2 separate regions of the Homo sapiens genome follow, and region 2 is linked to region 1. The links are contacts of gene promoters, found by promoter capture Hi-C in human tissues and cell types (Jung and others, 2019). All regions are on one chromosome and are shown on one strand. Each heading gives the region's core, a stretch centred on a gene start or on the middle of the fragment in contact. The rest is flanking DNA. Distances are from core to core; before and after follow the strand shown. Region 1 holds the start of SLC35B2 (solute carrier family 35 member B2). Region 2 overlaps ZNF318 (zinc finger protein 318).

Region 1 (3,374 bases), core at 471-2,970:
CACCTTGTAGGGAATCAACTGTGTGTGAAAAACCTATTCAGGGAGGCAAGAACTCTCAGAATTGGGTATCTGTAGTTCAACATGATATTCAAGGTGGAACTAGTACCCACTGCAAAATGCCATGGGGTCAGCATGTTAGCACTCTCTCACATGCAGTACTGGGGGAAGGCTGAATGGCTCCCCCACAATTTTATCAGTGGGTTTACAGTATGTGAGACACCAGTGCAGGAAGGAAGTATAATAACGGCACAGTAGAAATCACAGAGAATAGGGCAAGAGGAGTCCTCTCTTCTGCACTAGACATCTTGAAATAACAGCATGAACTTTCAGTACCAGTGCTGGAGAGGAGAAAAGGAAGAAACAAAAGGGCATTTCCCCCAAACACCTCAAAGATGGAGGTGCAGTGTGCCCCTGGGAGGAGGACACGAAACACACCAGCCAGCAAAGCTCTGGGACTGGTAAAATGGAAACCTTCACAGAATCCCTGCCCACCGGCATCCAACCCAGGAAGAGAGGCTGAGCCCACCTACCCACCTGGAGCCCTGTGGCACAGAAGAGCAGCTTCAGGGCCTGCCACATCGGGGTGGTCTCTGCCGCCTCTGTTCGGGGCGCCAGGGGAACCTCATCAGAGGCCTTGGGCTCATTGCCAAACACACAAGCTTTCACCAGGGGAAAGCAGAGGCCCCTACCTGAAGAAAGCACACAAAGTCAAGCCCCAAATCTTCTCCATAGCACTTCATCTTCCCCAGAGCAGCCAGCCTGCCCTGCTGTCCGGCCTACCGACCTCCCGCCCTCTCCAAGTCATATCCCGTTTGGACTGCTGGCCAAATACCCTCTTTCCCGACCTAGCTCACTTCCCCGCCCTTTCTTCACACACCGGTCTCCAGGTAGTTCTTCCGCCTGAAGTACTGCACCAGGAGGTAGCCAGGTACCATAAAGCTGGCATAGCCAGCAGCATTCACCACAAATCGGAAGAACCATAGCTGGGTCCATGACTCCGGAGGGGCTTCGGGAGTCTCCCCACCTGCCCCTAGGGAGGGGAACGCAGCCAGCACCACCACTGCCCACCATCTGTAAGGAAAGCGGACATAAGGATTAGGGCGCAGCTCCTCATCCCCTCCGCCCTCCAGAGGGGACCACACTGGAGTAGTGCCCGGAGTCTCCTCCCCGCCCCCTCCGCTGCAGCTCCGGCCCGGACAAAGAGCCTCTCTCTCTCTCTCTCTCTCGGGGAGGGGGTGCGCCGGCGCTGGCCAGGCAGAGCTTCCTCCCTCCCCGGGGGCGGATCCGCCCCTCTGGCCACACAGGTCTCCTCTGTTCCCTCCAACGCTAGCCGGCTGCTCAGGTCAGAGGAAGCGCCCCTTCCCCCACACTCCCCTCCACGATCCGGGACGTCAGGGTCCCCAGCCCCTCCGCCCGAAGCTCCCCAAGGAGCACAAAACCAAGCCGCAGCTCCCATCCCCGCTGGCTCCGGGCAGCGATATGCTGGCCGACGGCCGAGCAGCCGGGACCCCACCCGGCCCCCGTGCTGAGGCGCGGCAGTCACGTGGCCCGGGGGCTCGGTCACGTGAGCTCGCTGCTGCCCTAGCCCCCACCTGGCGTCCATGGTCCAGGCCGCGTGGGGTGGAGGGGGAACCGGGGAATGCGAGTCCCCGGGCCGCGCGCCCCCTGCGCTCCCGCCGCCGCCTCCAGGAGCGGCCAGCGAGCCAGCGGCCAGCGGAAGTGCCGCGCTCTTCCCGCCTCCCTCCCCGCGGCCCCCTCCGCCCCTGCCGCGACCACGCAGCGCCCCGGGCCGCCGCCGGACCACAGCGCCCCCGCGCGGCCCGGAGGCAGACGCGGCTTGGGTTCCGGGGACCTGGGCTGCCCCTGGGCGCGGGGAGCCCCAGCCCTGAAGAGGCGCCCGCCCGGCGTGTCCCCTGTGCTTCGTCATCGCCCTTCATAAGCGTCCCAGAGGTCATGGTGACCATTGCCATCTTGTGGACAGGACATTGAGGCTCTGCATCCCAAGCCGCTCCTCTGTGTTAGTTTCCCCGTTTTCTGACAGGATGAAGGTGTCTCCTTGCTTTGTTGGCTGGGTAGTAATTCTGTCCCACTTCCCATGATCTTCGAGGCTCTACATGGCCTCGCCCGCGTTCCTCGCCCACTCACTCGCCCGCTGTGAAGCCCCACTGGCTTGCTCTCAGTTCCTCTAATTCACAGGCTTTCCCCCTAATGCTCTGCCCCCATCCCTTTACTCATCCTTACATCCCAGTTGAGATGATACTCCTCAGGCGAGGGTTCCCGGACCACCCAAAGTATGACCCTCTACCGACTCCATCCTTTTCCTTCCCACTATTCTTTTCCCTTCATAGCACCCACTGCAACTTGGAAAGGCATCTTTATTTGGATGTTTATGCTTTTAACGGCTGTCTCTCTCACTGGATGAGACGCTCCAAGTGGTCAGAGACTGTGCTGGTTTATTGCCCCATGCTCTTCATGCCAGCATAGGGGTGACCTAGCAGGGCCCTCGAAGGTGAGGAACGGGGGGAAAAACGTGGAGTCAGCTCCCTCGTGCCCAGCCTCCCTGGGTTACCCTTATCCCCAGGCTCCTCCAGATGGCAACCCCCAGGGCAGTGGTGAGGGCTCCAGGGCGTGTGTCCTCTCATTCTTCCTCTTGTCCCTCCATCCCTCATCATTTCCACAGCAAGGACAAGGGTCTGTGCTGGACACAGAGAAAGGCCTGGAACTACTGGCCTCTGACCCCACCCAGCAAGGCCCTACCGTGCTCAGGGGACAATTTCCTTCTCTCTGCCTCTACCACAAAGTCACAGGGCAGGCCTGTCTAAAAAGCCCCAATGCACACAGACATGCATGCGCGCAAAACAGCTCTAGAAGGGAAAAACTTTTTTTAACGTCTCTGCCATTTTAGTGTCATGTTACTGAAACTTCCCTTCCCCAGTGGCTCAGTTCAGAGCCTTCTGTGTGAAGTCTTTAAACAACGGTGTTTCAGGGTCCTCAACAGCAATAAGATGGGACACCTCTCAGGGTTCTGCTTGCTCCTATTTCAGTCTCTTCTCACTCAGGAGAGTCCATGCTTCCTACTGGTTGGCAGTTTCAGGCTGACCCAACATGGGTAAAACAAGAGCACCTGCCATTTTCAAGAGAGGCAAACAGGCTTCACCCAGGATACCTGGGGCTTTGGGGGTCTTCCAAGAAGCCCTGTCCACCTGGAAAGCTCTTCCTTCCAGACTGGCTCTCTTCCACTTGCAGTCCCTCCTCCTCGGCTCAGGACTGTACTGGCTGGCCCCAGGCTCTGGCCACAGCAGTCCCTAGGGCACCAGAAGAGCACATAGCCTGGGCCCAAACTGCAGCAGTTATGGCTCCGGCTTCCAGATGGA
Region 2 (3,374 bases), core at 497-2,996, 900 kb before region 1:
CAGGGTTTCACCATGTTAGCCAGGATGGTCTTGATCTCCTGACCTAGTGATCAGCCCGCCTTGGCCTCCCAAAGTGCTGGGATTACAGGCATGAGCCACCGCGCCCAGCCTGTTTTGTTTAAGACAGAGTCTTGCTCTGTCACCCAGGCTGGAGTGCAGTGGCATGATCTCGGCTGACTGCAACCTCTACCTCCCTGGTTCAAGTGATTCTTGTGCCTCAACCTCCTTAAGTAGCTGGGATTACAGGTGTGCACCACCATGCTGGCTGACTTTTTGCATTTTTTTAGTAGAGATGGGGTTTCACATGTTGGCCAGGCTGGTCTCGAACTCCTGATCTCAGGTGATCTGCCCGCCTCAGCCTCCCAAACTGCTGGGATTACAGGCGTGAGCCTCCACACGTGGCTCAGATAAATGGTTTTAAAGCTGTGTTCCAGAGGTTGTAAAGAGTGCTCAGGAGCTACCAAAAGAAAGGAGGTACTAGAAAAGCAGAACCAGCAGGGCTCTTGACCTTCTATCCCAGTTAAATCACACTAATTCCAACTTTAAGTCTGTATATTAAGGTTCTAATAATTCAATTGGGAAAAAAAAGTATCACTATATGGTAACTTTTAAAAAAACTACTGATTTATCTAATTAGCATGATTTTCTCATAAGATTTAGAAGGTTCTCCAATGCTTTGCCTTGATGGTTCACATATTAAAACCCATAAAGCTCTCTCACAGCCTGTTTTGTCACCCTCTTTGCCTTCTCTGGATATCTACAAGCACTCTGCTAATCTTGGGCTTAGAAAAGAGAAAGTGATGGTTTGGTTCACCATATATTTTTATTTCATTAAATACAAAGGTCTCAGACCTTTGTGGCATGAGGTAAAAATCCAGGATGGGACAGCTATTCTTTTAGCTGAGAATTCTATACCACACCCAATAATGCTAACCTTCTCAGGGGCTATGGCTATGACACAAAACTAAAGTTTCTGATTTAAATCACAGATAGAAATAAAGATCCTCTAGCACTTTATGTATGAAAACTTCTAAGTACTCTGAATAAAAAATAAAAGTTCTTACATGTCACTCACATTCCAGAGTGAATTATCATCTAGAGGATGGTAACTATTAGTGTCTTCTACAGTTTCTAGTAGCTACTTTTGTTGTGAGTTTCTAGAAATGACTTTTCCTTAGTTTTTTTAGTAGTTGCTTTCCTATCTCTGAGACTATGCCAGCAGAATCTCAAAACATTGCCTTTTCTTATTCACCAGCCTGCCTTTGATCAAAGTTGTAGACCTAGGAATAAATTTATGAAAGGTTATCAAGGACAAACTTTATTTACCTTCTCTAACAAGAATGCCACCTGTGGGAATCCAGGTTTCTGTTACCCACCTTCTTCCTAAGAATTTGGGAAATTTTGAGGTTTCAATGCAGTATGAAATAGGAATAAATGGGAATAAACCAAGGATGATTTCTGAAATCAAACTGAGGTAAAAATTTTTCTCTATAGGTCTGTCAGCCATAAACACACCTATTTCCAGAGAGGAATGTTCATGAGTTGAGTCACTCCATTGCCAAAACACCATCTACCATACAAAAAGTCTCTGACCATATTAGTATAGGGAGAAAAAACATAGGCTCCATGAGGAGTGGCAAGTTCATTCACACTCCCACATTCAGCTCCCCACCAGAACTATTACATGTCACCATGAAACGGCATACTAGCCCAAGGTCTAAACCAGTACTAACTATCAAGAAGCTACAAATGAGATGGCTCTCAAAAAGCTGTAGTCCAGACTTGGAATCTCCAGTAGAGACAGAAAAAAGGCATAAAAACAGTTTTCTTAAAAAAGCTATCACATACATATAGGCAGAAATCAGGTTGCTTATTAGAAGCTCATGTCCTCCTTCCCCAGGACTCCAAAAGGATATGAGAAGAGAACTGGCTGTAGTAAGAACCCTAAAAAGGGTACAATCTCCTATACCCTGAAAGAGTCCAGCGATGGATACTCCCGGAAAGCCTTGGTTAAGTTCAACTGTTTTCTAAAATAAAGTCTATCTATTTAAAAAAACTGATTGTTGGAGTTAGGTAATAAGGACATGGGGTTTCACTGTACTATTCTACATTTTTGTGTTTACAAATCTCTGTTAAACAAGTTTTTAAAAAATGTATGTATGTCCATATAAAAACTTTTATACCAATGTTCAGAGCAGCATTAATCATAATTGCCAAAAAGTGAAAAGAATCAAAATGTTATCCATTCATTCACCACTGATGAATGGATAAACAAAACATGGTATATCCATACAATAAAATATTATCAGCAATAAAAAGGAATGCTACAAACACGGATGAACCTTAAAAAAAAATATGCTAAGTGAAAGAAGCCAGTCACAAAAGACCACATATTATATGATTCTATTTATATGAAATGTCCAGAACGGGCAAATCTATAGAGACAGAAAGTAGATTAGTGATTGCCTATGGCTGGGGGTAGGGTGGAGGGAGTAATGGCTAAAGGAACAGAGCTTCTTTCTGGTGTAATAAAAATGTTCTAAAATTGATTGTAGTGAGGGATGCACAACTCTGAATATGCGAAAAATCACTGAACTGTACACTTCAAATGGGTGAATTATATAGTATACAAATTACATCTCGATAAAGCTGTTAAAAATGTATACATATTTTAAAAGGTCCTTCAGAGCCTAAACTCTCCATTCTTTTCTGTTGATGAGTCCCAAAAATGCCCCAAGAAAGCTGTTTGCTTCTATTCCCTAAAGAAAATCAGAGGGAAAAAAATCCCACTCCTTCAATCTGTCAGAATAAGGAGAAGAAATTAGGCGATAAGCTGGGCACAATGGCTCACACCTGTAATCTTAGCACTTGGAGAGGCCAGGGCAGAAGGATTGCTTGGGGTCAGGAGACTAGCCTGGACAACACAGATAGATAGAAACCCAATTTCTAAAAATTTATTTTTTAATTCACCAGGTGTGGCAGTGCAGCCCATAGTCCTAGCTACTCTTTAGACTGAGCTGGGAGGACCACTTGAGCCCAGGAGTTTGAGGTTACAGTGAACTATGATCACGCCACTGCACTCCAGGCTGGGCAACAGAGCAAGACATTGTCTTTTAAAAAGTTAATAATTTTTTTTAAATAAATAGCTCCATGAATGGAACATTAAATGTGCAAATTACTTTGATGAACAGGAGAAATCAACCTAACATCCACAAGTCTTTAGAAGCCAAGTGTTTTAGAATTTTTCACATTACCTTTCATGTTCCCTTTTGAGTAGAATTACAGTCCTACATACAGGGCTGCTAAGGTGAAGACACTAAAACCCAACTTGGCTATCATCCAAACCTGATATAAAACTTAACAGATTCAATAAA

The links. Contacts are between HindIII fragments. The study calls those that stand out against the background at their distance.
Region 2: a contact is called between a fragment that was not itself captured here and the fragment with the promoter of SLC35B2 in region 1, in 1 of the 25 tissues and cell types used here (spleen).

The regions. Positions count from the first base shown.
Region 1 is chr6:44,255,808-44,259,181 of GRCh38, forward strand. It overlaps SLC35B2 (solute carrier family 35 member B2), which reads right to left and starts at 1,721. Exons shown (of 4, transcript NM_178148.4): 1 at 1,593-1,721; 2 at 878-1,071; 3 at 535-689. The coding sequence starts at 1,603. NFKBIE (NFKB inhibitor epsilon) reads right to left here. Exons shown (of 6, transcript NM_004556.3): 6 at 2,359-3,374. RefSeq lists an enhancer at 1,310-2,023 and a silencer at 1,400-1,939. The HindIII fragment of the contact is 5,935 bases long and covers 87-3,374 here.
Region 2 is chr6:43,358,452-43,361,825 of GRCh38, forward strand. The region is part of intron 2 of ZNF318 (zinc finger protein 318); the gene reads right to left. Among named protein-coding and RNA genes, the nearest start is that of ZNF318, 9.5 kb to the right of the region's middle. The HindIII fragment of the contact is 8,687 bases long and covers 1-3,374 here.